Regions from separate parts of the Homo sapiens genome. Here all the other regions are linked to region 1. Evidence: promoter capture Hi-C in 16 types of primary human blood cells and fetal thymus (Javierre and others, 2016). All regions are on one chromosome and are shown on one strand. Each heading gives the region's core, a stretch centred on a gene start or on the middle of the fragment in contact. The rest is flanking DNA. Distances are from core to core; before and after follow the strand shown.

What was found. Contacts are between HindIII fragments. The CHiCAGO score rates a contact against its expected background, and 5 or more counts as called.
Region 2: a contact is called between a fragment that was not itself captured here and the fragment with the promoter of ACTR6 in region 1, in 1 of 17 cell types (total CD4 T cells). The highest score is 5.8, in total CD4 T cells.
Region 3: a fragment that was not itself captured here is called in contact with the fragment with the promoter of ACTR6 in region 1 in 3 of 17 cell types (total CD4 T cells, total CD8 T cells and naive CD8 T cells); the score reaches 9.8 in total CD4 T cells.
Region 4: the fragment with the promoter of SNRPF here is called in contact with the fragment with the promoter of ACTR6 in region 1 in 1 of 17 cell types (naive CD8 T cells); the score reaches 6.0 in naive CD8 T cells.
Region 5: the fragment with the promoter of AMDHD1 here is called in contact with the fragment with the promoter of ACTR6 in region 1 in 1 of 17 cell types (total CD4 T cells); the score reaches 6.2 in total CD4 T cells.
Region 6: a contact is called between a fragment that was not itself captured here and the fragment with the promoter of ACTR6 in region 1, in 2 of 17 cell types (non-activated CD4 T cells and total CD4 T cells). The highest score is 7.9, in non-activated CD4 T cells.
Region 7: a fragment that was not itself captured here is called in contact with the fragment with the promoter of ACTR6 in region 1 in 1 of 17 cell types (total CD4 T cells); the score reaches 6.7 in total CD4 T cells.

What each region holds. Positions count from the first base shown.
Region 1 is chr12:100,198,903-100,203,169 of GRCh38, reverse strand. It overlaps ACTR6 (actin related protein 6), which reads right to left and starts at 2,355. Exons shown (of 11, transcript NM_022496.5): 1 at 2,251-2,355. The coding sequence starts at 2,318. RefSeq lists enhancers at 183-242, 1-559, 560-1,247, 2,092-2,291, 2,265-2,559 and a silencer at 3,052-3,411. The HindIII fragment of the contact is 11,223 bases long and covers 774-4,267 here.
Region 2 is chr12:95,211,035-95,215,301 of GRCh38, reverse strand. It overlaps FGD6 (FYVE, RhoGEF and PH domain containing 6), which reads left to right. Exons shown (of 21, transcript NM_018351.4): 2 at 4,035-4,267. Among named protein-coding and RNA genes, the nearest start is that of FGD6, 4.3 kb to the left of the region's middle. RefSeq lists an enhancer at 1,253-1,332. The HindIII fragment of the contact is 1,169 bases long and covers 1,683-2,851 here.
Region 3 is chr12:95,474,300-95,478,566 of GRCh38, reverse strand. METAP2 (methionyl aminopeptidase 2) reads right to left here. Exons shown (of 11, transcript NM_006838.4): 1 at 4,237-4,267; 2 at 2,389-2,496. Among named protein-coding and RNA genes, the nearest start is that of METAP2, 2.3 kb to the right of the region's middle. RefSeq lists an enhancer at 4,199-4,267. The HindIII fragment of the contact is 2,850 bases long and covers 768-3,617 here.
Region 4 is chr12:95,856,919-95,861,185 of GRCh38, reverse strand. It overlaps SNRPF (small nuclear ribonucleoprotein polypeptide F), which reads right to left and starts at 2,234. Exons shown (of 4, transcript NM_003095.5): 1 at 2,110-2,234; 2 at 1-18. The coding sequence starts at 2,112. SNRPF-DT (SNRPF divergent transcript) reads left to right here and starts at 2,347. Exons shown (of 3, transcript NR_135014.1): 1 at 2,347-2,432. RefSeq lists enhancers at 1,912-1,961, 1,992-2,221, 2,342-2,401, 2,452-2,511, 1,910-2,525. The HindIII fragment of the contact is 4,587 bases long and covers 1,492-4,267 here.
Region 5 is chr12:95,941,202-95,945,468 of GRCh38, reverse strand. It overlaps AMDHD1 (amidohydrolase domain containing 1), which reads right to left and starts at 2,138. Exons shown (of 9, transcript NM_152435.3): 1 at 1,934-2,138. The coding sequence starts at 2,070. It overlaps CCDC38 (coiled-coil domain containing 38), which reads left to right and starts at 2,855. Exons shown (of 16, transcript NM_182496.3): 1 at 2,855-3,038. The HindIII fragment of the contact is 927 bases long and covers 1,449-2,375 here.
Region 6 is chr12:96,030,128-96,034,394 of GRCh38, reverse strand. The region is part of intron 1 of LTA4H (leukotriene A4 hydrolase); the gene reads left to right. Among named protein-coding and RNA genes, the nearest start is that of LTA4H, 3.3 kb to the left of the region's middle. RefSeq lists an enhancer at 1,344-1,513. The HindIII fragment of the contact is 170 bases long and covers 1,990-2,159 here.
Region 7 is chr12:96,913,940-96,918,206 of GRCh38, reverse strand. NEDD1 (NEDD1 gamma-tubulin ring complex targeting factor) reads right to left here. Exons shown (of 16, transcript NM_152905.4): 5 at 470-586. Among named protein-coding and RNA genes, the nearest start is that of NEDD1, 8.8 kb to the right of the region's middle. The HindIII fragment of the contact is 2,298 bases long and covers 849-3,146 here.

The sequences.
Region 1 (4,267 bases), core at 1,106-3,605:
GGGTGGGGAAGGAGGGTGGGGCCGTAAGCATTAACACCTAAATTGCACTTCCTGTCAGATCAGCCATAGCATTAGATTCTCATAGGAGCAGGAACCCTATTTTGAACTGTGCATGCAAGGGATATAGTTTGTGCACTTTTTTTGTGAGAATCTAATACCTGAGAATAGTTTCATTTCAAAACCATCGCCCACACTCATACCCCCAACCACACGTTAAAATTGTCTTCCACGAAACCAGTCCTTGGTGCCAAAAAGGTTGGAGACTGCTGCTGCTACAGGGTACAGAAGTAGCAACTTTTTTTTTTTTTTTTTGAGACCGAGTCTCGCTTTGTCGCCCCAGGCTGGAGTGCAGTGGCGTGATCTCGGCTCACTGCAAGCTCCGCCTCCCAGGCCCACGCCATTCTCCCGCCTCAGCCTCCCAGGTAGCTGGGACTACAGGCGCCTGCCACTACGCCCGGCTAATTTTTGTATTTTTAGTAGAGACAGGGTTTCGCCGTGTTAGCCATGATGCTCTGGATCTCCTAACCTCGTGATCCACCCACCTGGGCCTCTTGCTGCTTGCCATGAGCTTACAATCTGGTTTGGAAGACAAACTAGAGCCATTATTAATTATACACACATGTATGCATACAAATGTGTCTGTATGTGTATACGAGATGACACTGGGATAATACTGTAAAAAAATGTTTTACACCTGCTTATTTCACTTATAATACTGTCAGCATTTTCTCTACATGTTTAAATGTTCTTTGAAGACATAATTTTAAGAAGCTTGAATTTGTTATCAGTCTCAGGTTGTATTTTGGTGTATTTAGCCAATATGCTATTCCTGATTATTTAGCTTCCTTCCCATTTTTTGGCTGCCTGTATACGATGACTATGAATAATACAAAGCACTTCTAATTAATTCTCTAGGTAATAACAGAATTGCTGTGTCATGGCCCGGTGCGGTGGCTCACACCTGTAATCCCAGCACTTTAGGAGGCTGAAGCAGGCAGATCACGAGGTCAGGAATTCCAGACCAGCATGGCCAAAATGGTGAAACCCCCGTCTCTACTAAAAATACAAAACTTAGCCAGGCGTGGTGGTGCGCAACTGTAGTCCCAGCTACTTGGGAGGCTGAGGCATGAGAATGGCTTGAACCCGGGAGGCAGAGGTTGCAGCGAGCCGAGATCGTGCCACTGCACTCCAGCCTGGACAAGAGAGCCAGACTCCCTCTCCAAAAAAAAAAAAAAAAATTGCTTTGTCAGCTGGGTGTAGGGCTCACGCCCCTAATACCAGCACTTTGGGAGGCCAACGCGGGTAGACTGCTTGAGGCCAGGGGCTCGAGACCGGCCTGGCCAACATGATGAAACCCCGTCTCTAACAAAAATACAAAAAATTCGCTGGGAGTGGTGGTGCACGCCTATAATCCCAGCTACTCTGGAGGCTGAGGCGGGAGAATCACTTGAATTCAGGCTGCAGTGAGCTGAGATCGCACCACGGCACTCCAGCCTCGGTGACAATGATAATGATACACATTGCCAAAACGTTTTCCAGAAAGATTGTAACAATTTACATTCCTACTCAGTTTGATTTCCCTCTTTCATTTCTGTTTCAAAAGAAATGAAAAAGAAGGAAAGGAGGGAGGAAGGAAAGAATTTTTTTTAATGCTCTGTTAATTTGATAAAGGAAAGGCGTGTCTTTAGGTTTGCTTATTTATTCAAACATATATTTTATGACTATACATGTTATGAATGCCATTGTATTAACAGTACTTCTGTTTAATTGACCTTACCAACTAGGTCGGCCAGTAGGCCAAAGTCTTCAAAGCCTCTAGATCCTAAGACCGTGATTTTTAGACTTTTGGAGGGTCATAGAACCCTTTGAGAATCTAATGAAACCTATAATCTTGTACCCAGGAAAATCCGCATACACCCAAACACCGTGCCCATAGTTTCCAAAGGCTGATGAACTTTACGGACCCTTCTGTCAGGAACGCATCTCTATAAGCCTATTTTCTTTGGCTATTTCCTGTTACGAAATAAAACATATATCCCACTTCCGGGGCCTCGCAGCCCAAAACTAAAACCAAAATCAATTTCAATTCAAAGCATCACAATCACCCACCCAGCTCCAACCAGGGAATCCCTCTGGCTAAGTCAGGGCCGCGCGGGGGTGTCTGCAGTTCATTGATGTCCGGAGATGAAACGTAGCACATGAAACCACTAGGCGTATATATCTTGTCCCTCGGAGAAAGAAAGTACTTACGACACATTTTCATGGCTGTAACCGATTTTGGCGTTGTAAGCTCCATTATCCAGCACTAAGGTCGTCATCTCACCACCAACCACACCGCAGCCGTAGTTGTTTTCCCTTTCCGACCCCTCTGCTCGAGCTTTTTCCGGTACTCTATGGTTTGTTGGGCGGAGCGTTAGGACGCGCCTCTGGTCACCTTAGCAACGGAGGACGCCGGAAGTCGGAGATGCTAAGCAGCACCGAATGTTAGGGGCTGTGCTTCCAAACTTAACCTGTTTATGTGGTGGCGAGATTTGACTACTATGTGCTTTCTCGCTCATTTCGTATTTGTTTTTAACTACGCAGATTAATTCGCGCAAGTTTTTTCTAATCCTGTAGAGAACCGGCTGCGTGTGTGTGTGTGTGTGTGTGTGTGTGTGTGTCTTCCAATCGCATTCTTCAGACGGTGACATTCTTTGAAGAAAAAAGTGCAAAACTTGCTCTTGGACTCACATTCATACTCTCCTCTTCCCCAGCCCACTTGCTCTTCAGGACGAAGCTGAGTGAGTCTTTCTCATCCAAAAAAGGCTTTTGGGCCGGACGCGGTGGCTCACGCCTGTAATCCCAGCACTTTAGGAGACCAAGGCAAGCAGATCACTTGAGGTCAGGAGCTTGAGACCAGCCTGACCAACACGGCGAAACCCCGTCTCTATTAAAAATACAAAAAGTAGCCGGGCGAGGTGGCGGGCGCCTGTAATCCCAAGTACTCGGGAGGCTGAGGCGGGAGAATTGCTTGAACCGGGGAGGCGGAGGTTGCAGTGAGCCGAGATGGCTCCACTACACTCCAGCCTGGGCGACAGAGCGAGACTCCGGCAGGGCGGGGACTTGGCAGGTGCGGGAGGCAGGACCTGGCTTCCGGGGCGTCGCGGGGGCAACGGCCAGCGGGCGGGGGCAAGGGCCAGCGGGCTAGGACAACTGCCAACGGGCTTGGAGGGGGGCGTTCTACAAATTCCAGGCCACTTTGAGCGCCTGAGAGAGGAGCGGGGCGGCGGGAAGGGGGCACCGCGGGGGCAGGGAGCGCAGCAGCCGCAGCGCGAAGGCGCGGGGGCCGGGGAACAAACGGTTGGCGCGCAGGCAGCCATACCGGGGCCGGAACCCGGGCAGAGGAGGGCAGCGACGGCGATGGGGAGGCTGCAGAGCCCGGGGCGGGTACCGCGCGGGAACCAGCGCGACTGCGTGGCTACCGCAGCCGTCGGTTCGTGTTGGACGGGCGCCGCTGCTGCCTCTGCTACTTCAAGAACCCCCACGACCCGCTGCCCCTCGGCCACCTGGACATAGCAGAAGCCTGCTTCAGCTACCAGCGCGCCGACGAGGCGGCGGAGCAGCCTGCGCACTTCCAGGTGCGCAGCGCGGGAGCCGCCACGGTGCTTGAGGTGGGAACTCGCGCCCTGCAAGCGCCTGGGCCCTTCTGTCGGCGCTCCTTGCCTCCCCTGGGGGCCTGCCCCATCCACCCTCCTTTCTCCAAGGCCTCCTCGCACCCTGCCAACGTCGGCCTGCCTTTCCCCACTTCTCCACATCCCGTCCTCGTTCCTATCTCCTCCCCTCCACCTGGGCTTAGGCCCGGGTGGCTGGGGCTACCCAGCCCAGTCTCCTTCCTCAGACACTTTGACCCATTATCTCCCTCTGCTCCTTCCCTCTGACCCCTCTCTAGTGTCTTCTCACCCCCAGCATCCCGTGGATGTCCGGTGCAGCCCTCCCAAGCATTCATAACCGTAGGCTTCTGCCCCAGGGGCCTCCTTTAGAACTCTGCTAGGACCTTGGTACATCAGTTAACCGCTCTGCCCTTCAGCGTCCTCTAAAATGAGATAGCAGTAGTATCTATATCATGGGGTGTTGAGATTAAACTAATTATACTCTAAACTGCTCAGTAAATGTTAGTACATTTATTTTATTTTTATTTATTTGTTCTTTTTGCCATAGGATCTCGCTCTGTTGTGCAGACTGAAGTGCAGTGGTGTGATTTCAGCTAACTGCAGCCTCATGCCTGGGC
Region 2 (4,267 bases), core at 1,018-3,517, 5.0 Mb after region 1:
AAGAAAATAAAAGGAATGTTGTAGAACATCTAGGTTATATGTATCCAGCAGAAAAGCTTGCTTTGTTTTTCTACATCTATAAAATAATCTGCCCTTAGTGGAGATTTCAGAATTATTTTAAGCTGTATATGAAAAAGGAGAGGCTGGGCGCAGTGGCTCAAGCCTGTAATTCCATCACTTTGGGAGGCCAAGGCGGGTGGATCACTTGAGGTCAGGAGTTTGAGACCAGCCTGGCCAACATGGCAAAACCCTGTCTCTACTAAAAATACAAAAATTAGCCAGGTGTGGTGGGGTGCGCCTGTAGTCCCAGCTATTCGGGAGGCTGATATGAAAATTGCTTGAGCCAGCGAGGCGGAGGTTGTGGTGAGCCGAGATCGAGCCACTGCACTCTAGCCTGGGTGACAGAGCAAGACTCCATCTCAAAAAAAAAAAAAAAAAAAGAAAAAAGGAGAGAGAATTATAGGTATATATAGGTATATATTTTGTGTCCTTTTGAACATGTACAGGTCACTGTCTTCATTGTCTGTGCTTTGCGTTTTGGCTGGTCCAGTAGCCAGAGAGTGTACACGTGAACCACAGCCATCTGTGTGTAACAGATGACGAGTATGTTTGTAATAGTTAGTAAAATGGTACTAGTGCTTTACTTTCTTACCTTATATTTCCCTGGAGCCAAACAGCTGTGTAAATAAAAGATTTGCTGCTTTGCTCTAAGAAGCTTTGGGTCTGACTGTTGATGCAGTATTAAGATCCAAAGGTGCTAGATTTATTGCCAAATGTCATGCACTTATTTCACATTGGAGTAGACCATAATATAATGGCTTATTATTTTTTGAGTTGTGTTTCTTCCAAAATAGAGCCATGAAAAAAAAATAATGAAGGATTTTGGATATTGCTCTACCAGTGACTTAGTTGAACACTTGTTCCTATTAATAATTAAGGAATTTTTCAATAATCGTATTGAAATTGATTCCTGCTAACTTTTCAAAATATTATTCTACATTAAAATGGATGTACATTTTTGAATGTGATTATTTTTAAAGAAGAAATTTTCTGTTATGGAGACATATTAAAGAGTATGTGTATGTGGCAGCTGTGATTATTCCCAGGCCCTGTTGTTAGCACTGGGATACATCAGTGAATGAGACAAAGTGCCTGCCCTTCTGGAGCTTGTGTCTTATGCTGAACACAGACAAAGGTGAACTGAAAAAACATCAACGCAGGAGACAGAGGCCACAGTACATGAGGTTCTTCTGAAATGAGTGTCTCAGAAGTTATCATCTCAGATTCCTATGGGCTTTAGAGGCCTGTTCAACTCCCCCATTTATAAGGAAGGAAAGTGAGGCAGCCAGGTCTGTACAAGGCCCACAATTAGGTTAGCCAGCTCCCTGAGTTATGTCTGTGACTTCCTTCAATACACAGTTAACTAACAATGGCAAGCCCAAGTTCACAGTTATTAATTGAATTCAGTGAGTATGCGTTGAGGGTTTTATGTACGTAATAGGACTTTGCTATATTTATTGGGAATCAACTCCAGCACATACGTAGTTAATTGAATTTCTGTGACACTAGAACAGGAATTTATATCTCTTGGAAGCAGATTTGTGTACAAAACGCATTTTTTAAAAAGAGTAAAATTGGTACCAGGGATTTTTTAAAAATGATATTTAAATGACCCTAAAGCTTCTGACAAGGTTCTAAGATACGGAAAGTAAAAGATTAATTTGATGAGAGATGAAGTTTTCTTCCAACTGTGGTAAAATAGCACATAAGATAAATTTACCGTCTTACTCATTTTTAAGTGTATAGTTCAGAAGTGTTAAGTACATTCACATGGTACATCCAATCTCAAGAACTCTTCATTTTACGAAACTATTTTTTTTGTTTTCATGGAGACGGAGTCTTACTGTGTTGCCCAGGCTGGTCTCCAATTCCTGAGCTCAAGCAATCCTCCCACCTTGCCCTCCCAAGGTGCTGGGATTACAGGCATGAGCCACTATGCCAGGCTGCCAAAACTAATTTTTAAAAAATTCTTTGAAAAATCCCAGAGGTAGGATGTTTTGATAATGGTTACAGAAATAAAATCAACTTGACAGTCGTACTGAGTAAGATGGGCCGTTGGGAAGAGGCCTAAGGCATTCATACTTTCTCTTAAGACTTGACTTACTAAATGGAGGGTTTGATTTAATAGACATTTACAACTAGGTTTCTCACTAGGATTTGAAGGGTTTTTCAGTTATTTTCTGCCTAAAAAAAACTCAGACAAAATTAACTATGATGATTGAACAGCTAACTGAAATTATGTAGTATAGGAATTTGCATTATTTTGAAAATAATTTTTTATTGATGATGACATTATACCTAGAAATTGAGTGAGAGGACATGTATCATCATATACATCATATAATCTTTATTGCACACATAGAAGTAGAGATTTAGGGAATTCTTCCTTGGTTGGTAAAAGGAAGTAGAGCACCCTACTCCTCTTTTTTTTAAAAAAACTCAGTTCCGTGTAATAGCTTCCCAAGTGTCGTGACTAATTTCCTTTGTTCAAAAGTAAGTCATCACCAAATGAAATATCAGAGCCCCTGTCTATTCAAGTAATTAAACAACGTCCAGCAGTCCTTTGCAGCAGATATTTTGAAAAGTTTTTTCAGTAAATTAAGTTTTTATTAAGTGTTAGATCCTGTCAAACGAACAAATATAAATGTAAAAGATAAAATATTTTTTATGACATGTCTCCTTGGGGAAATGTGGTCAATAATATGACAGTGTAGGTGGAAGAACATAAAGGAACTTACAGATATACAGGCTTTATTTATCTTTTCGCTTTATAGGTCTGTTGTGTAAAGCTTTTATTAGGTTCCTATAGTATAGGAGCAGATCTGTACCGATGCAGCATTGTATAATAGGTGTTAGTTAAATACCTTATATATAATGTTTAGGAAGAATTGCTACACTAGAAATTGTAGTTATCTTTTAAATGTAGTAGAACAGTGGATGTTAATGAGGGATAAACAACATAACCTGTGGAACTTAAAAGATGTACAGATGTCCAGGATCTATCCCCAGAAACTAACTAGTTCACTCTAGGGTAGGACCTAGACATGTGACTTTTTAAAAAATAGAGCTCCGTGAAGGAATATAATGAAAATTCCCAACCAATAACTCTTGGAGAAAGAAATACCAGGTTTATTATGAGCCTTAAATAATACCAAAGAATTAATTTTCAGTTTTTAAATTTAGAAAATTTCTGATTTCTGTCTTCCTTTTTTAATATTGTTTTGGGGTTCTATCTATCGAGGTAGACAGATCATTGATCATTGATCTGAAGTTTAAAGAGCTGCATCCTACATTTAACTTAGGCAAATTCAACTTTCAGCACTTGGCAAATGAATTGAAGAACAACTATGTGGGTCCCAAACTGAAGTCAATTATCTCATTTTTTGTCAATGAAAGATATGATGGGCTGGGCGCGGTGGCTCACGCCTATAATCCCAGCACTTTGGGAGGCTGAGGTGGGTGGATCACGAGGTCAGGAGTTTGAGACCAGCCTGATCAACATGGTGAAACCCCATCTCTACTAAAAATACAAAACTTAGCCGGATGTGGTGGTGCGCACTTGTAATCCCAGCTACTCAGGAGGCTGAGGCAGGAGAAATACTTGAACCCTGGAAGCAGAGGTTGCAGTGAGCCGAGATCATGTCACTGCACTCCAGCCTGGGCGACAGGGCAAGACTCCGTCTCACAAAAAAAAAAAAAGAAGAAAAAGAAAAAAAGATATGGTAACAGTTCCAAAGCTGGAGAAACAAACTGTATTGGATTTATTTAAAAATGTACAATAGACCCAAAGCTATGTATGGAATTGAAAGACAATTTAAGGAATTTTCAGGAGTAATATTGATACTATATAATGTAACATACTCAGTAAAAGGCAAGGTCATATTGTTAAAAATAAAAAATGCTATCAGATTTAATCATGTATCATTTTGTGCTTTGGTTGTTTTGACATCAAATTATTATTTTTTCCTTTCTAGAGATAAAGAAGCCACCAGTGGCCCCCAAGCCCAAGTTTGTTGTGGCAAATAATAAGCCAGCCCCACCTCCTATTGCACCTAAACCCGACATTGTGATTTCTAGTGTTCCACAGTCGACAAAGAAAATGAAACCAGCAATAGCCCCAAAACCAAAAGTCCTGAAGACCTCACCTGTTCGAGAGATTGGGCAGTCGCCATCAAGGAAAATCATGTTGAACCTGGAAGGGCATAAA
Region 3 (4,267 bases), core at 943-3,442, 4.7 Mb after region 1:
TCCACCTCCTGGGTTCAAGCAATTTTCCTGCCTCAGCCTCCCGAGTAGCTGGGATTACAGGCACCCACCACCACACCTGGCTAATTTTTTGTATTTTTAGTAGAGATGGGGTTTCACCATGTTGGTAAGGCTGGTTTTGAACTCCTGACCTCAGGTGATCCACCCACCTCAGCCTCCCAAAATGCTGGGATTACAGGCGAGAGCTAACACACCTGGTCTAGTTTTCCATTAGGAGAAAGATCTTGAAACACTAGCTTTCCATTCCCTCAAAGACCTAACAACAGGTAAGTAGTATTGACTGACTCTGATTACTGAAATAACTACAAATATTCCTAAAATCTTCTTTAATACATTGAAGATTTCCAACCTGATGGGCAACTTTGTAGAGATGTAACAGAACAAGATAACACTTCAAGATTAGCACTGTGATTTTTTTTGGGGGGTGGGGGGAGGTGGACGGGTATAGACATAGGGTCTCACTATGTTGCCCAGGCTTGTCTGGATTACAGGCATAAGCCACCACACCCAGCCAATATTTTTTAACTAGCCTGACAGGCCCAGGAAGCATTATGATACCATATACACAGTGGGTCTATAGCAATCTATTATATTGCCTTGAATTTACAAAACATTTTCTTGTGAAGAGCTCAAAATAAGTTCATAATCTAAAGCATAAGCCAATGTAGAACAGAGGTTTAAGGAAGAGGAAAAGCTAGTAATTCCCTTGAATCTTGGCACTTTTTTCCACCAAATGTTCACTATAAGCTTCTTGAAGGCAGAGAACATACCACTCTAAAGGAAAACAACTACTCTACATTACCCTAACACAATAATTACAGCCCCAACTAATGGTTAAAGACCTAACCCCAGGCTGGTGGTGCTTGAGGGGGAGCAGATGTTCTCAGTAGTAGGCAGCTACAAATAAAAAGAATGGGAAAGCCCCATTTTTCCTCCGCCAAAAGAGGCTGGAAAAAAGTTAAGTTTTCTTACCTGTCTCTTCCTTCACTGTTTTACTGATAACATCAATTAGCAGTTGCTGTCTTTAAAAAAATCTTATTGTACCCAAACACCCAGAAGGAGCTAGGGTCAAGGAATTTATAATAAAACTTAGTGCACTCCTATACGATTCTTTCAGAATGAAAAGAGTTAATTTTGGTATAGAGAGTAAAAGGAACAGGCCGGACACAGTAGCTCAAACCTGTAATCCCAGCACCTTGGGAGGCTGAGGTGGGCAGATTACTTGAGGTCAGGAGTTCAAGACCAACCTGGCAAAACCCCATTTCTACTAAAGATACAAAAAAATTAGTTGGGCATGGTGGCAGGCGCCTGTAATCCCAGCTACTCGGGAGGCTGAGGCAGGAGAATTGCTTGAGCTCGGGAGGTCGCAGTGATCCGAGATCACGCCACTGCACTCCAGCCTGTGCGACAGAGCGAGACTCGGTCTCAAAAAGAAAAAAAAAAATAGAGAGTAAAAGGAACAAACGTGCAGTCAGGCACTAGGTTTGAAATTCTGGCTCTATTCTACACATATTAGCTATGTCACTTTGGGTAAATCATGTAACTACCACTTCCCTATCTGTAAAATGAGATGGCTGGGTAAAGCCATGAAGGGCTGGGTAAAGTCAAAATAAATAGGAAAAGACAGTCCATTACCAAAAAACAAAATGGATATCTAAGCACAAGTAGGTTACTTTGCTTGGTTTTGTGAGGTTAAAATGTGAATGTATGTGAAAATAACCTAGGAAAGTATCTAGTACATAGTAGTTCTTCAGTAAGTATTAGTTAAATAAACAACCCCTCAATCTTATTAATACTCACTACTTTGCCTTCTACCAAGTATATTTTTAAACTCTGAGATCTGTCCTATCTGAACAGCTAATTAACACATTGAACTTTTTCAAGACTTGCTAATAAATACCTTTTCCTTTTTAATCTGTGACATTAATTGAGGTAACAAGTGAAATGTCAGAGAAAACACTATACGAGTAAATAAATTTTGATTAAGGAATATCACATTTTCTAGCTTTTCTTTCTTTCTTTCTTTCTTTCTTTTTTTTGAGACAGTCTTACTCTGCTGGCCAGGCTGGAGTGCAGTGGTGCAATCTCAGCTCACTGCAACCTCCATCTCTCGGGCTCAAGCAATTCTCCTGCCTCAGCTTCCCAAGTTGTTGGGATTACAGGTGTGTGCTACCACACCCGGCTAAATTTTTTTTTGTCTTTTTAGAAGAGATGGGGTTTCAACATGTTGGCCAGGCTGGTCTCGAACTACTGACCTTATGTAATCCACCCGCCTCGACCTCCCAAAGTGCTGGGATTACAGGTGTGTGCCACCACACCCGGCTACATTTTCTAGCTTTTCTAACCACAAAGATCAAATTAACCATTTACCTTCATCATCTTCATCTCTTTCTTTATCTTCCAATGCTGATCTTTCCAACTGTCTTGCTACTTCATCCACTGAGGCTCCTGATTCTTTATCAGGTTCCTGTTCCCCTGCTGATCAAAATAAAATAGCAGAAATCAAATCTAATACAGACACTTTCCCACTAGAATATGCTCTAATGATCTTGGAAAACTTACAAATCCTTTCCTCAGGAAACAAAAACAGAAACATTATTGTGAACATAACAGAATTCGTTTAATGACAGAAAAATCTTCCATACCTACACAGTATTGTCCATTCATTAATTTACTCAACAAAATATCCATTACACACACTAGCAGCTAAAAGATAAACAGCGTGAACTGGTCTCTATCCTCAAGTAGTTTAACTTGTAATAGTGGTCAGCAATTAGACTTAACAAATACTTAAACACCAGATAGGTAATAAATGCTGAAGGCCTTAGGAAAAAGATTCATGTGCAACACCCCGGGGCAGCCTGGTTTCATGAATAAGGATATCACGATGGGCTGGGTAAAGTCAAAATAAATAGGCAAAGACAGTCCATTACTAAAAAACTAAAACGCTCAAATATCTAAGCACAAGACCAGGCCCCTGCTCTGGAAGTGATTATAACCTACCTATAAGAGCAATATGTTACATGCATTAATAGTATCAGGTAGCACGAAATGAAGTGACATTCTGGCTACTGGAGAGAATTCATATTAAGAAATACAACTGTTAAAAATACATTAGGATCAGTCAGCTTAACACCTTACAAGACAAACAGCAGTGTTTGAATTTCACTCGAAATCCAGGAACAGCCACCAGAGTAACAAATTTTGCTCTGGAAGAGTTCCAGCAACGCTACAACTCTCCTTCCATTCCTATCTAATCAAAATTTCAGAAAGATGAAGATTAGCTCTCTTCGACCTCTCTCAATTCCATCTTAATCGCTTCTGACTTCTCCATTTTCTGTTTCTCTGGCGATTTTAATTAGAAACAAGTAAAAATAATTTTTATTAAGGTGAAGGAGCTTGTGCAGCAAAAACACAGACTTCTCAAAATATGTAAGTTCCTAGTTCATAATATCCAACTGTAAACTCTCAGCAGTTCTCCTTGCCTTACCAGTGGATTTAGAGGTTAAGACCTCAGAAGTTCCATTCTGAGCCACAGAATATCCTATCTGCACTGCCTGCAATTGGTATCATAATTCAGGTCTAAAGGCCCTAAAGCTTGGCGATGCTATGGGATTAGGCAGGTGAAAATTCGTTATCACCACCACAAATTCTGCAATTAATGACATGAGCGCGCGGGCAAACACACATGTACACACACCCCAAAAGTGCAGGCTGCAACAACCCCAACGTGAAACGGGATAGTGGGAGGAGGTGTGCTCTCCATTACATTTGCCCACCCCCAAAGAAAATAAGTCCTAGCTTGCTCCAGCAAACCAGCAAAGACGCGGCAATACGGATCAGAATCGGATTTTTGAGGCGGCGGCCAAATCGCGCGAAAGATGGTAGGGCTGTGCTCTGCGCACAATCTCAAGACCGTGCCACGATGTGCGTGGGAGCTGAGTTCTGGTAATACAGGGGCTCGGGCCCAGCGACCCCAGAGGTACCACACGCCAACCTCAGGCACTCTTTTCTCCCCCACCAGCCCTCTAGTCCCACAGGAGGAGATGACGCCTCTTCTCAGACTAGGAATCTATAGCCCGGCTTTGCCACCCTGTCAGGCCCAAGAATCAGTCTAGTCGGGGCTCTGGGGCCCCGGTCCCGGCCCCCTCAACGGGCCTGAGCCAAACAGTTCAGCCGTTCCCGGAGGGGACTGGGAAAACATAAAACTCTCTTTACCTGCAGAAGGCCCTTTGCTCTTCTTCTTCTT
Region 4 (4,267 bases), core at 985-3,484, 4.3 Mb after region 1:
GGGATTGAGGGGTAAACTCTGCACAAAGAACAAAAAAGGATCTAATTAATTATTTTTCCTCCCACCACCAACTCTCTTCTACCGAATCACCAATATTTTGTGGTATGCAAATGAAGAAAACTTTTGACTCCTTATTATTTTAGTACATAATTTTCACTTTTATTTGTTGAGAGTACCAGGGAAATTTAAATATCCAGTTAGCCAATTTCACCTTTAACCCATCAAAACAAAACACTGACTATTCACTTAAGATACACTGACTACCTACATCACTCACTGTTCTGAGCTCTAAAGAAACAAAGATAAAGGCACTAAAAAAAAAAAAAAAAAAAAGCGGGCCAGGTAGGGTGGCTCGTATCTGTAATTCCAGTAATCTGGAAGGCCAAGGCCGGGGGATCACTTGAGGTCACGAGTTCAAGACCAGCCCAGGCAACATAGTGAGACCCCCATCTCTACCAAAAATAGTCAGGTGTGGTGGTGCACACCTGTAGTCCCAGCTACTAGGGAGGATGAGGTGGGAGGACTGCTTGAACCCAGGAGCTCGAGGCTGCAGTGAGCTATGATTAGGCCACTGCACTCCAGCCTGGGCAACAGAGCAAGACCTTGTCTCTTATAAATAAATAAATAAATGAGTCCCTGTCAAGAAGTTGGAGATGGGGAGGGGAACTCCTCACATACAAATAATTATATTGCATGCTGCACTGTAGTAAAAGGAGATATACTAGGCACAAGGGTACCAAAGCAATCCAGGGGAAAAAGGAAAGGTTGCCTGAAATAAGTAATACCTCAGTTTTAAAGGATAAGAGTTTATTTCCAGAGCGGGAAAAAATGCTGTTCCAGGCAAGGCTAGCTACTTATGTAAAAGGAGGGAAGAGTGATGCAACAAGGTGGTTTTGGGGACATACAATTCAGCATTGTCAGTCAAAGCCCCAAATATAAAACTACAGAAGGAAGCAGAGGGCAGATCACGCTTGACAGTATTTAACTGGGGAAGCTAGGGCTAGGTCCTATCTGACTTTGTCAGTAGCACCGCCTCTTACTTACAGCAATTACTTAATGTCTATTTATTCAGCAAACCATTAACATCTCCAGTGATTTCGGTTTTTGCCCTCTTCTGCTCACTCACCAGTCAAACAAAGAAGAGAACTAAGAAACTTGGCTACTAACCCCCTCTAACATGAGCATATTCGGAGTGATCTTGATATGGCGATTACTCCAATAACCTAATGGGTCTCCAGTTTTCATTCTCCAATTTGTTATCCACCACAGTAACTATGATTTTTTAAAGTGCACATCAGATTGTCATATTTCTGCTTAAAATGATCCAATGGCTTCCAACCGAATCATTTTAAATTGATTTGGAGTACAATCAAAACCTCCCAATACAGCCTAAGAGGTCCTGCCCAACGCCTGCTCCTCCGATACCATCTCTTAACCACTATTCGCGCAAGTGGCTATACCTTTCTGTCAATTTCTCCAAATGACCAAGCTTTCTTTCCGGCCGCAGGTCTTATGCTCCTATTCCCTGTGCTCGGTACACTCCTCCTCCTGCTCTTTAAAGGGTCGTATTTCATGACACTTAGGCTTCGAGTTAAATTCCACCTCCTAGGGAGGCCATCTCTGACTAAGCCTCTAATGTCTAACGCGCACCCTCACAGCCTCCTGTCTGCATTGTTCTTAGCACTTATTATTTGCAATTACATACTTGTTATTTTTTGACTAATGTCTGTCTTCCCCACCCAAGTGAGTTAATCTAGAGCATGGCCGTATCATTACTTTCACGGAATGAAAGTGAATTCTGGAGTGTGGTTAAGTGGGAAGTGCAAATTCTCTTTGACTTTTACCCCGACCCTATAGCCCCAACTAAGAATACCCCAGGCCCGGATTCAAACAAAGAGAAGAAGGCACGGGCACTCCTAGGAAAAGAAAGGCATCGGGAGGAGCACGCGCCTCAGAAACCTAAAAGCAGAGTGAAAGGAGCTGGCGACAGGGTGCGCGGCGCCTCACGCGGATGAATGGGAAACGCGCGAAGGAACCAGCAGGCCCCGCGAGGCTGGTCTCCCTCCTTCTCTTTCTCCCCGCTTCTCCCGCCGTTCTCTTTCTCCTTACCATCGTAACCACGGCCGAATGTTGCAGGCTACTCTCTGCCGACCAGGCCGCCGCCCGTCCCTCGTGACTACAGCAGGTACCGCAGGTCCCGAGCCGCAGTTTCAAGAGAAATGGCCGCCAAACAGGACTATGACCTTTCACCTCCCACCACGGCCCTTCCTGCCTCTGTGATTGGACGCAAAGAGGTGCGTGCTGATTGGAGGAGATGGCTGGCCCAGTATCTCCTAGCAACCAGCAGCGGCTTGGGTTTGCGCCTTGCAGGCGGCGCGCGGACCTTGGGAAACCGGCTCTGAGCATCGCTGTGAGGCAGCCAAGGACTGGAGGCAGGCCGGTGTTTTTAAATGTGGTGTCCTTCCTAGAGGGCGGTCTGGGAGAGGCTGTGTAACGGATGTGACTTCTCCCCAACTTGGCTAATGGGGATTTACTTTGTCTTTTTACACCCGTGAGAATGTTCGGGGTCCCAGAGTTCCTTCCTCACTCTTCCAACAGGTTCCATGATTTGGGGGCGCCTCTGCCGCAGGCCCTTTCTACCTGAGTGTTCTCTCTTCTGCAACACCCGTTTTAACCCCTTTTAAAGGAATTGGGGGCTAGCCAGACTAGACTAGGGGCGGCGAAACGCACTGAAGAGAGTTGGATACAGAATTTCTTGCAAACGAGGTCGAGTTGCGTCTGGGATACGGTGTCATGCCCCACCCCCGCCCCACGACCCTGCCGGCCCCACCTTTCTTTTGCTTCGCCTGCAGAAACCCGCACGGCCTTCATACGTGCATTTGAAATTACCTAAGGGCGTAAGCAATATTTCCTCTGTCACGGATTAAAACTTTCGATGTAACGGTGTTATCTGAATCTCACTAGTTTTTGTCGTAATCCTATTGAGTTCGGGTCACTCTGATCTGAAATGCTAAATGCAGTTCTTGGAGAACACGCCCTTTGGGAAGTAACGCTTTTTTGCGGCCCTGAAGAGATGGATTTGGAGTTGAGGATGAAATGTTGGGTGTTGAGGCATTGTGGAGCAGTGGGCAAGACTTTGGAGGGGGCCTGCATTCGGAACCTGCGTCTATCAGGCGCGGCCGGTGTTGGGCAGTGTCTTAACCCCGAGGGCCATTGTTTCCTCGGCAGGAACGCGGCTTTAAAAACGGAACCATCCTCAGGGTGGTTGCGAGAATTTAACGTAAAACGGGGCTTGGCCTTGTAAAAGCTCAGTGTTTCACGTAAATGTTGAACACTGACCAGACAATGATTGTCAGTGTAGTTTTTACCAAACAGTTATTAGATTTATTCACCCTAAACTTCAGTGGATTTCTCCGTTTGTCTATTGTTTTATGAACTTTAAGTCTTTGTATAGACTTTGAGTTCCTACTATGTGTCAGGCTTTTTCAACAATCGTGGAAATCTTACCTTACTGTCTGATTCGGGGTGACAGCCCCGTTTAAGAGATGAGGAAGTAGGCCCAGCAGGTAACTGTTACCAGTTGAGGGTAGCTGTCCGAGTTCTTGGCGTTTTCAACAAAGAATTGGACAAAACGCACAAACAAAGCAGGGCAGCGAAAGCAGAGATTTATTTTAAATGAAAGTACACTCTACAGGGTGGGCACCGCCTGGTGCAAGCGGCTCAAGAGCATTGGTTATAGAATTTTCTGGGCTTTAAATACCCTCTAGAGGTTGCCCATTGGCCCACAACCAGTCTGATTGGTTGCGGGAGGGGACCAATAAGAGGTACTTTCATTTTTCAACTGCCACGCAGAAAAAGGAGGGGTTGAAATGGGAGTAGCCTCTGATACCCAGTCAGCATGGATGGGCCCTAGGTTCCCTGCTTCCAGCCGCTATTCTTCTGCCTCATAGCTTGCTCAGGACCACATACCTGGGTTTCAAAACTCTGCTTTTTCTACTTCATGAAGCTACCTTTCAAAGACTCAATATGTGTTTTAGAAGCCTGACTCTTTAGCTGTTTTCTCAGTGAAGTGAAACGAAATACTACAGTAAACACATTCTGTAAAGATAGTGTATTTAAGGTTGGTTTTTCTTTTCATGTTAAATTTTTTTTTTAATTTGAGACAGGGTCTCATTCTGTCACCCAGGCTGGATTGTAGAGGTGAGATCTTGGCTTACTGCAGCCTTGACCTCTTGGGCTCAAGAGATCCTCCCACTTCAGCCTCCCG
Region 5 (4,267 bases), core at 889-3,388, 4.3 Mb after region 1:
TACTTGATTTTTGCACCAACCTAATATATAAGACAGTGATGATAGTAAGTGAAAATAAAAACAACACCATCCTGTACCGAGCTAATCATATTTGAATGGCAAAGTTCTCAATATTCTTGTAAATTTATTTCATTGTAATAAATCCAACAAACTGTGAGAACAATGTAGCAGACTCAAATGAAAAAGCCCCATCTTCCAGACCACAAGTCAGCTCCCTCCTTTTCCTTTCCCTACTTTTTGTGGTTTTGATGTGAACATAGAACATGTCTTGGAACCCAGGACTTCATGTTGGTGCATTAGTATCATTTTATTTATGTATTTATTTATTTATTTTTGAGACAGAGTCTCGCTCTGTCACCCAGGCTGGAGTGCAGTGGCGAGATCTCAGCTCACTGCAACCTCCGCCTCCCGGGTTCAAGCGATTCTCCTGCCTCAGCCTCCCGAGTAGCTGGGATTACAGACGTGCGCCGCCATGCCCGGCTAATGTTTGTATTTTTAGTAGAGATGGGGTTTCATCATGTTGGCCAGGCTGATCTCGAGCTCCCAACCTCAGGTGATCCACCTGCCTCAGCTTCCCAAAGTGCTGGGATTGCAGGCGTGAGTCACTGTGCCTGGTCGCATTGATATAATTTTTATAAGATACTCCAGTCCCAACCCAGGTACATATTTTTCAACTTTCTAAGCAAAATTTTAAATAATATTTTCATAGTAAATTGGGAATGTTTTCATCCCTTAATTAAAAATAAACCAGTCAAGCTGGGCGTGGTGGTTCACGCCTGTAATCTCAGCACTGGGAGGCCAAACCAGGTGGATGGCTTGAGCCCAGGAGTTCAAGACCAGCCTGGGCAACACAGTGAGACATTGTCTCTACAAAAAATACAAAAATTAGCCTGGCGTGGTGGCGTGCACCTGTAGTCCCAGCTGCTTGTCAAGCTGAGGTGGGAGGATGGCTTGAGCCTGGGAGGTGGAGATCGCAGTTGAGCCTGGGAGGTGGAGCCAAGATCATGCCACTGCACTCCAACCTGGGCAACAGAGCTAGACCCTGTCTCAAAAAAACAAAAAATAGGCTGGGCGCAGTGGCTCATGCGTCTCAAAAATAAATAAATAAATAAATAAATAAATAAATAAATAAATAAATAAAATTAAACCAACCCACAGTCCCTTAAAAGCTGGGCTCTTGCACAACCCTAAACTGCCTCAGATAAGCCGTGGTCAGTTTGTGAGACTCATTGATCGTGTGCAATTGTGGTCCCATGGCACGCTTTGGATTCAAATTCTCATCCAACTTCCCTTGCTACCCCAGGTCGCCCTCAAACTTTGTTCTTTTATTCATATCTGGCAGGAAGCTCAGATGAGTAAGAGAAATATCTTGTTTTCTGATGGTCAAATCTTGATTTATTATCACTCAGGGCCATTATCGTCTAAATGTTCTCCGTGGTTCTAAAGCTTTAGTGTACGAGATCACGAGGATGTGAAAGGTACTTTTGAAAAATTCAGGTCTCAGAACTCCAGCCCCAGTGATGCTGATTCTAAAATTCTAGGGATAGGGAGTGGGGGACGCAGGTGGAATCAGAAATCTGCCGTAAGAATAAAATAACCACAGGCCACCCTGACAAAGGTGGTCTTCTGGCCTCCCTTTAAGAAGCACTGGGGAGGACCTCAACCCCTTCTGATGGTTGGACAGTGATATTTTACCAGCAGAGGCAGGACCCTGATGCGTTCCAATGGGGTGTTCCTCTCTGAGCTCTTTGGACGGAATGACAACCCCAAGCAGCAGAGCGTGTTAGCAACAGGTACCCCAAAGGCTGGCTTGCCCGTGTATCTCTGTGCAGGGACGCTTTCACGGCGTTGTTTCCCTCCAGAGTGCACAGTGAGAGGAAGAGCGGCCAGCTCCGCCCGTGGCGGTCCCCACCCTGCGCGCCCGGCCACTTACTTGCCCACCACCAGGCTGGCGCCTTCCAGCACCGCCAGGCTGCGCAGCGCATCCCGCGCCAGGAAGCGCTCGCCGCGGGCGCACACCAGCACCACTTGCTGCGCGTTCTCCAGCAGGAGGCTGTGGCCGCTTGCCATGTCGCCTCGCGCCGAGGGTCGCCGGGAGGCCACCGGGCTCGGGCCACCGGCAGGACTCAGTGGAGGACGAAAAGCCGCAGCCTGCGCTGTCCGGGGCTGGGAGGGTGGGGCGGGGGCGGGCGCTCGCAGCCGCTGCCCTTTGCTCGCCTCCCCCAACCACAGCAACGGGGGCGGTAATCATTGCAAGAATGGCAACGAGTAATAAACCTGATGAGGAATCCTCTCTTTTTTGGTCGTCTTGTCCCATCCCGAGTAAACGAGATGGAGACTAGTGTCCCTACTTTTCAGATAAGGAAACTTAAGCTTGGTCACCCCGAGAGATCAAAGTGAGCTGTGTGGATCACGTGGTATGTGGAAGCGCGTCAAGGGTTGGCTGGGTGAGGGCACCCGGAGTGTTCGGGAGTGAGGGACCGGAACCTGGGGTAGAGCCCCGGAAGGGGGGCCATGGGGGAAACCTCTGCCCGGGGGGTTGGGGTGGGAGCCTGGAGATAGCGCTCCTGGAGAGGGCAGAGTAGGGGAAAGCTGTGCCCAGGGGCAGGGACGGGAGCTTGGAGGTAGAGCCCCGGGAGAGGACAGAGTGGGGGAAACCTCTGCCTAGGGTGCTGGGACGCGAGCCTGGAGGCAGAGCCCCGGGAGGGTACTGCGTGGAGGAAACATCTGCCCACAGGTTCTGGGGCGGGAGCCCGGGACGCGGAGGGCCGCGAGCCGAGGGAACCTGGGGGTGGGGAGGAGGGGGATGCGGTAGGGGAGGTGCTCCTGGGTCCGCGCGGGTGGCGGGTGCCCCGCACTTATCCGTTGGCCAGCTGCGTTCCGGGATCAGCTACCAGACGGTCCCTGAGATGACCGGGAACCGGGCTGGGGGAGGATAGAGCCGAGACTGGAGGATCGATTGGCACCTCCGCCCACTTTTCCCACAACGCCTTCCCGAACGATAGGTTGGAAAGGCTCCTGGATCCAAACTCGCTGAGGTAAAATAGGTTTCAGCTCAGTGTCCGCCCCTCCGCATGCCCCCTCCCACCCCTCAGCTGTGTCTGGTGGGCCTACAAGCAACTTGCGACCAAAATTGGAGACAGAATCAAGTTTATGGAAGATGGTCTGTGATTCTCAGCCTCGTCGCTTCCTGCTACCAATTGCTATGGAAACACTGCCAGGCCCAGGCTTTTGAGTCCTTAATTACTTGATTTCGTTTATTCATGTTTATCACAAGCTCTGTGTTAAGTCTTGTGGAACATACAAAGATAGGAAAGGCGCTTTCCCTGCCCAGTAAAGACTTTACAATAAAAGTGATAGATGTGGACACAAATAATATACTATAAAAGCAGACTAAGCCTGCAAACCCACAAAATATAAAAGTTAATTTAGTCTCATTAAAAAAACCTGGAACAGAAAGCAAACACTCCTTTAGATGACCACGATAAATAAGAATATAATTTAGCTTCATATTATGGCCTATAAAAGAGAGATCAGTTAGGAAAGAGAAAGATAAAAATTGGAAAATATATAGACAATGTGAGTGAAAGAGACCCTAAGGGTGGGGGGGAGGGGGCATCAGAAGATTATTCACAGCTCATATACACAATCACAAACAGGTTGTTTGTGTGTGTGTGTGCATAGCTTTTAAAAAGTTTATACATACATATATTTCTATGTCTTTAAAAAGAGAAGTAGAAATAGTGGGGAATAGAAACACATAAAGTCACTAATTCACAGAGAAATATTAAAATTTTCTATTATAAAATTTCTGCTGAAGACTTTAATCAGTTACATTTTGCAATTTTAGGCATATTTGCAGAACTATGCAATTGTATGTATAAAGGATGGGTTAAAATTATAGAAAAATAGGGTTCAATAAACTTGTCTTAGTCTGAGTTCTGTTTCCTATAAGCTGTTTGACCTTGGGGAATTTCTTTACAGTAATTTCTCGAAGCCTCGTTTTCTCATCCTCATCATAGGGAGAGCTGTTTCTACTTTATGGGCTTGTCTGAGTTTTAAATAAAATAAAACATAAATCACTTAGCCCAGTGCCCAGCTCTAAACAAGTAATAGGTATTATTACTATTATTCGTGTGTTTTAATCCTGCTATTTGTCTTCCTGGCCAATTAAGTTAAAGATTAGATTTCAGCCAATAGTATAGTTCCTCTCCTGACTTCACAGACCATGTACTTAAAGCTTGCAAGTTCTGGGTGAGTCTAAAAG
Region 6 (4,267 bases), core at 825-3,324, 4.2 Mb after region 1:
CATAACCTATATTTAATGTTCTTGCTCAAATTGCCCAATAGTATTTGGTTTATACCTTTCATCTGAAGGTACCTTTCACCTGAAGAATTTCATAGAAGATCATTTTAAAAATAAGAGGGTCATGAAAAGACAGCCAAATTCGGCTTCTTCACCAGGGCAGGATGCTACATGTGTATTTTACACAGTGTAGCATGGTGAAATCTACTAAAGCACATCAATAAGCAATCAGATCAGATCGGGCAGATAAGAATTGGTGGCTTTCAGGCCTCTTTTTCCTACTTGTGTAGGAAGGATCTGAATTTTGATTTCATTAATATGAACTAATAAGTACTTACTTTCTTACTCTTCATCCCTCAACATTTTGCTAAACTGATTGATTTGAAAAATAGGTCGATTCCTCTATGTACTGATAGGTAATCAACAAAAGTACCATAAGAAAGAAAATTAAGATATTATAAGCAGGAAGGCATCTATTTCCTTGCAGATCGCACTTTGGTCTTCTTGAAGTACCATGCTATCTTTAATTGCAGTAGCAACTTTGCCTGGGCAGGGCTGAAGTCCTATTTCAATGCAGTTTCAAAACTAAACACCGCATGTTCTCACTCATAAGTGAGAGTTGAACAATGAGAACACATGGACACAGGGAGGGGAACATCACACACCAGGGCCTGTTGGGGGTAGGGGCCTAGGGGAGGGATAGCATTAGGAGAAATACCTAATGTAGCTGACGGGTTGATGGGTGCAGCAAACCACCATGGCATGTGTATACTTATGTAACAAACCTGCACGTTCTGCACATGTACCCCAGAACTTAAAGTATAATAATAAAAAAAGAAAAACCACACTGTGAGACTGCCATATTTGAACATGAGTTTATACGTCCTACATTCAAAAGTACTAGAGATTTAAAAATTAAGCAATTCAGGACACTTGTGTTCAGATGTGAATAATTGCAAACCAAAACCGAGGTCGCTAGTGGAAGAAATTTAAAGAGGTTTTTCTAATATATGAACAGCAAATTCTTCCTTGAATCTTTAGCTGCAACATATATTTCAGAAGAAATATTCCAATTGGTTTAAGATATAATAAAACCTTGACTAAGCCCCAAACCCACTCAAAGCTCTTAGTTAACTGGAAAGTTCTTGTTCTTCACCTTTATTTAAAAAAATTAAATTATAAACTATGCTGATAAAAGTAAAAGAATGAAAATTTTTATAGCTTTTTGCTGCTTAATGTGACCTCACACTTACCTTTGTTTTGTAAAATAAAAACTTAAAAAATTTATTATTTGAAGTTCAGGTGTACTTCAAATGTGCAGGTTTGTTACATAGGTAAACTTGTGTCATGAGGGTTTGTTGTACAGATTATTTTGTCACCCAGGTATTAAGCCTAGTACCCATTAGTTACTTTTCCTGATCCTTTCCCTTCTCCTACCCTCCACCCTCCAGTAAGCCCCAGTGTGTGTTCCCCACTGTGTATCCATGTGTTCTCATCACTTTTGTAGAATAAAAACTTTATCTCTGTTCTATAAGTAAGCAAGAGTCAGGATGTTTAAATTTTGAAAAGAATGTCCCAATCTAAAAATCTGCTCATTGTTTTTACATTCCCCAAATCTAGAGAAAAGTAAGATTTTAAAATAGTGATTTCTGGTTGGCATGTCTGTTTAGCAAATTAGAGCCTGGAATTATAATAATGTTACATGTTATACAAGGAAGGCAATTTATGGTACAAAATAACATGTTTATAATTGTTTGCTTATTTATGACAAAAGCCTTAGACCAGGAGCTTATCCTTATTAATTAGTTAATTAGTATTTATTTAAAGTTAACTTGTTTCTTTCCTCCACTAGATTGTGGACTCTTGAATGTAGAGACTGTGTTTCATAACTCTTTGTATCTCAGCTTCCTAGTATAGTCTATGTCTGGCATGTAGAGGACATTCAAAAGTTTGATTAATGGATGATTTCAATTAGAAAACAGTGCCTAAGCTTAACATGGGCTACATTGATAATAGTGCCAGCTGTATTTCAGAGGTGAGATGGGAAGACCCAGTGCCAGTGCGGAATCAGGAGAGACGTCATGTCTTCTTTTCCTCTCCGTTCTTAGAGTTTGTGATGTTGAGGAATGCTGAAGGAGACTTAATCGGACAAATTCTAAGCTTTCTAAAATTCTTTTCAAGTTTTGGGTTATTTACACTGAAGTTTGATCCTCCAAATTTATGATAACTTTCATACATTTGTTTCTTTTCACTGAAACCTTCAGAAATGTTTAGGTGTTCTTTTGGTTAGTGGCTCAAGAGGTTTTAGTGCCATGGCCAAGGCAGAAGCCAGCAGTTAACAATAGGTAATTCTGACTGCAAACCATCTTGTTTTCACTAAGTAAATGTCTCAACTGGGAATCAAATCAAGGTGGTTTTTTAGTTTTAGCTTTGTGTTTCACACATAAACCTATTTTTTTTCATCATATCCCTGCACATAGCAAGTAGAAAATGTAAATTTAGACATCATAATGAGGCATAAAGCTTTTTTTAAAAAAACTCTGCTTTGTTCTAGAAAGGACTGAGACTGCTTGAAGCAACATATATAGTATAAGATTAAAAATAATTAAATAATTTGCAGGAAGAGAGAATAGGGATAGGAGAAACAAAACCCATGGCATAAAGCCCTCTATACTTTAAAAGAAGTGGGCCACAGGGTTGACATGGAGCTTCCTACCAGCCTGTGCAAAAAAGGAATCAGATACCTATTCCATGTCAACTGACCAGCTACTGAGAAGTACAACTGCTTTTTAGGGGGATGGAGGGTATTGTTCAAAGAGGATACTGTGAAACATATAAATTATATCCTATAATTAGTAGAGCTGTTGATGCTTAACACGTTTCTTAAAAAGTACTAAATCCAACTTGTCAACAATCCAGTTTTCTTTATTTTTCTTTCTTATTACAGTTTTTGACTATTTTTTAAAAATAACATCGCTGAAATTTGAAGGGGAATTTTAAAAAGTAGTTTGCAAATGATAGTTGAGACTTAGGACTTGAGATAATACAGCTTAAACATTGCATTTTTTGTTTTCTCTTGGTCTAGGACCTGCTTCATGCATTAATTGACACCTAGTGTTTTTGAGGCAGAGTGCTAAACCCTGGGAATACAGACCTAAGTAACATTCTCTGTTTTAGAACCCTTAGTCTAATGGAAAAAGAAATCATTATAATGCAGTACAGTAAGTATTATAGGAAAGGGTAGGGCCAAGAGCTATAACAGACACAGGGGATATCAAAACGTTTCACAAAAAATAGTTGTCACTATGACACTTCTGATTCTGAACAGATTTGGAAAGTTTAGCCAATATAGAAAACAGAATATGTTCCACTGGGAAATGACCCAGTTAATTCATCTATATAAGCATGTGTTATAAACACAAGATACTCAAATCAAGTTTTTAAAACAAGTTAGCTATTCTGAATAGCTATTCAGAACTAGGTACTAGACTATGAAGAGACTAGAGAGGTACTAGAATATGAAGGAGTAACCCTATTATTTTAAATAAGATATAAACCGTATCTTCTACTAATTTAGAGTAAGGATAACAAATGAGGTACCCCCAAAAGAAAGTACCCAGGGGCAGCTGGGAAATGGCTGGTTCTTGGCCTCACATGTAGCCAGGTCAGATTTCAGAAAAGGAAAAAAATAATGCCAGAGGTAGGGAGATCTGGTAGAAAGCAGTTCTGCCAGTCCAGGGCCTGACCTGGGTTAGTAGTGGAAAGAAAGGAAAAGTATGAAGACATTGTGAAAGAACAACTTTTAAGTGGCTGTGTGGGGTTGGGAAATGGGATCAAACCTTAGGTAACTGGAAGAGTTCTTTTAACAGAATCAAGAAATCTGGGGAGAAATCTGATTCAGGGAGTATAAAAATCATTTTTGGAATTTTTAGAAGCCTATTCAATGTGTGGTGCTATGTCCCATGGAAATGTTGAGCAGGCGATTCGACTGAGGTCCTGGGGAGGGAATACAACTGTAGAACTAGAATGGCAGGCATCTTCACAGAGATACTAATTGAAGATGTGGGCATGAGTAAGAGCTAGGGAGTGAAGGATATGGCAAGAAAATCAAAGGACCGGGGCTGGAACATTGGGACATATCCATATTTTTGAATTGGAATAAAGGAGGGGAAAGGAAAAAAACATTAGACAAATAGAGAACCATTTATGATGTATGCGTACAGGCAAAGAAGTGAAGGAAGGGGTTTTAACCAGATGACATAGTCCATAA
Region 7 (4,267 bases), core at 748-3,247, 3.3 Mb after region 1:
CAAGTTAAAAATACAAACACACACACACAAAAAAAAAACACAAACAAGAGCAGCCAAATATACTACATAACTAAAAAGCTGACCCAACTCTGATTACTGTATTGAATACTATCATCACAAAACAACTCTCATTTTTTCCACCTGGCCCTAAGGAAAGATCCCTGATGACCACACACCATAGTTTAGGAAAAAATGAGTGAAGTGGTTCATTCAAATAAGAGTAGAACTAAATAAAAAACAAGAAAAAAGTTGTAAATGTTGATCATATGCATTAATGCTACACATGTAAGAAAAAAGACATAAAAATAAGTTTTTGGCTAAATAGCACCTTTATTTTCCCTAACAAATCTTAGTTCAATTCTGAAGCCTCTTATTTTTATCATAAAAGCTCAAAAATAAAAGCTTGGTAAGTACTCTAAATGCATTAAGATATCCATTTTTTCATGAAGATTTTTTTTAAATTGCTTACCTTAAGAGATCGATGAACTCTTTTTGATTTTAAATCCCAAATATTAACAGTGTTATTTAGGCCTCCGCTTACCAAATACATAGATGTAGAATTTAAATTGACACATGTCTGCTTTTGCTATTTAAAAAAAAAAAAAAAAGTTACCTTAATTTAACAGAGCCCAGAGCTGACTTTCAGGTCTCATCCAACACTTAGTAAGCATATGATAAATATTGGTTAAATTAAATACTATAAACATGCTAATCTTGTACTAAAGAGCCACTCTCTCATCGTCTTTCTTCCACATGGATCCAACAGCTTTTAAGGGGGTCAAAAATGCTTCAAGGAAATCAAATAGATTTGCATTCACTTCTGTGGACCGGTGACGACACAGGAAGCTTAGAAAACACTGGCAGTCCTGGTCTCCCATCAGGGCTTGTTTGCCCATCCTATCTCCTCTTGATAAAGCCTGCTCTTGTATTTCCACAGAATATCCTACATTAAAATCAATCCCCAGCTCAAAAATGCTAAAAATAGAAGAGACTTTAAAAGAATTTCCAGTGTACAGCCCTCATTTTACCGATGGGATAAGTTTTTTTTTAAAGAAGTCAAGATACTTGCCCTAAGTCTTCCAGCAAATCTCCGTTAAGGAGACCAAGTCTCAGACATCAGGTCATCAAAGCCTGACTTCAACTGTTCCCCATCTCTGTAAAGACACCATCCAGTTTCTCAAGATAAAAACCCAGAATAACCCTTGATTTCTTGTTCTCCCTCCCCTCCAATCTATCAGTAAGCTCTCTAAACTCCAACCCAAGAATGAATCCCACATGGGCTCCCCTTTATCTATAGCTACTACTAACACTAACCCAAACCTTACCAAACTACGACAGCAGCTTCCTAACTGGTTTCCCTGTTTCCACTCCTGCTCTCCTATATTCCATCCTTCATAAGTAGGGTGGACTTTAAAAATGTAAATCAGATCATGTCTCCTTCCATACCCAAATGACTATAAATCATGCTGCTATAAAGACACATGCACACGTATGTTTATTGCGGCATTACTCACAATAGCAAAGACTTGGAACCAACCCAAATGTCCAACAATGATAGACTGGATTAAGAAAATGTGGCACATATACACCATGGAATACTATGCAGCCATAAAAAATGATGAGTTCATGTCCTTTGTAGGGACATGGATGAAATTGGAAACCATCATTCTCAGTAAACTATCGCAAGAACAAAAAACCAAACACCGCATATTCTCACTCATAGGTGGGAATTGAACAATGAGATCACATGGACACAGGAAGGGGAATATCACACTCTGGGGACTGTGGTGGGGAGGGGGGAGGGGGGAGGGATAGCATTGGGAGATATACCTAATGCTAGATGACGAGTTAGTGGGTGCAGCGCACCAGCATGGCACATGTATACGTATGTAACTAACCTGCACAATGTGCACATGTACCCTAAAACTTAAAGTATAATTTAAAAATAATAATAATAATAATAATAATAATAATAAATCTTCAACGGCTTCCAATCACACCAAGAATAAACTCCAAACATTTACCTGGCTTTCAAAGTCCTATTATTTGGGCCCTACCTCATCTGTTACCATTTTCTTCCTCATCCACTAATTCTCCAGCCATACTGACCTTCCATTCCTTAAATATACAACCCTATATTTGCCTCAAGGCTTCTACACAGCTATTCTCCTTGCCTAGAAAGCTAAATTCACTGAACCCTGTTTGGAAGACTTTCTGGTCAACAGATATCAACTTAAGTGCCACCACACTTCAAGGGACCTCCATTGGCTACCTAATGTAACTTGCTATCACAATATCTTATTTTAGTTATCTGCATGATAACTTACCAATATCTGGGTATTTTTTGTTTACTAGTTTACTGCCTGTCCCCCGCCAGAATGTCAGTTTCACTAGCACAAGGCCCATATCCATGCTCCATCTTTATAGAATGGCTAAAATACAGATGTTGTCAAGTTCTTCTCAGTGAGTATCTTTGAGTGTCACCAATTTGGTGGTGCCATCAGTAACTATGCTATACAGAACAGTGTTGCATTTTTTTCCTAAGTAACCTTTAGATGCACTACGAAGTCACATTAGTTGGAACTTCCACAGTGCATCCTTGGATTCTTCAAATTCAAAGGAGACATTTCATGACTTCAAGAAAAGTTAAAAGGCAAGCTATGTAGGTTTAGGCAAATCATCTCACCTTTCTGAGCCTATGCTTCTGCATTTGAGAAACGAAAGGTGAAGACTAGATCTACTGTTCTTACTTTGAGAATCCATGCTTCTCAGAAATATCCTCTGCTCAAAAGAGATTCTTTAAAGGGTGCATATGATCCCCTTCCTCTAGCCCTTCCCCCATTGCACGTTCAAATACTATAAACATGCTAATCTTGTACTAAAGAGCCACTCTCTTACTGTCTTTCTTCCACATGGATCCAACGGCTTTTAAGGGGGTCAAAAATGCTTCAAGGAAATCAAATAGATTTGTGTTCACTTCTGTGGACCCCAGGGTTCCTTCTAGCTCTAAAATTTTGACCAAGAGTATCAACTAACATATAAAAATAGCAAGATGCACACAACATCAATGTTTCAGTATAGTTGCTGTAATTCTCCTGCAGATACCATTCTAGGAATTGACTTTAGTTGAGGGAGACTAAGAAGCTTTAGAATCTGGTTGTCACTGCAAATCAGGACAGTTTGCTAAGAACTATCAAAACAGCCTTTAAATAAAATAGAAAAAGATGGTGTCCATTGAAGATCAATATATTGGGACTCCAATCATCACAACAACTACAATTACTCTTAAGGGCTCAAAATAAAAATTATATTTAGAGCTGGCTAACCCTGTTGATAGGTCTTTTTTATGATAATGTATTATTAATGCAACTAATGAACTTAAATAATTAATGGAAATTGTGTGGTTATTACAGGAATCCTGAACTGCTCAAGGTGCAAGGCAAAGGTACATTCTACTTTAAAGAGGTGAAATACAAAATCAAAGAAAATAAATATGAACTTAAAGTTCTACTCTAAAATTTTAAAATCAGTAAGATCATAATTTATTTTCTCAAGTAGAAAAGGTCTAATGCCTCAAATAATACACGAGTAAGAGGACTTGGAAGTTACAAAAAGGTTATTAGCACATTAATATGTTTCTGTAAACATTACTAGTAAAAGCTAAAAAACCAATGTTTCCAAATATTTTCATAACTAAATTAAAATAGATTGAAAATTTGAACTCAACTAATCTTACTTTTATCCAACAGCATTATGATACAATTTGTTAACTATGGGAAAGAGGGCTAAGAATCATAGCAACTAATTTGGAATATTCACAAAACTCTTAGAATTATGTCACACTTGTAAATACCATCTGTTATTTTTATACTTTAAAAAAAAAGCTCCCAAATACTGATTCACTGATCCTAAGGCATAATGCATAACAGTAGTACATATATATAGTGGTAGAGTAGAAGTTGAAATTGTTTTGATGTTGACATTAACAAGTTTTTTGAACATCTTAGGATACAAAGATCCAAAGATGGTTAAGATGTTTTGCCTGCTCTTGAAGACTTCAGTCTGCCTTTATCGACCAGAGACATTCTATGCCTTGATTCTGCTTAAGTCAGGTTAAACAGAGTGCCTCAAACTCCATTTCTACTGTTAGCACATGTTCCCTCTGTCCCAGTCTCCAACATCTGTGGGTTAGAACTGAAGTTCAGGTCAATCCCACTGGATACCTTTAGGAGAGGATTGATAAAAATCATGAGTCCTCTTTAAATTA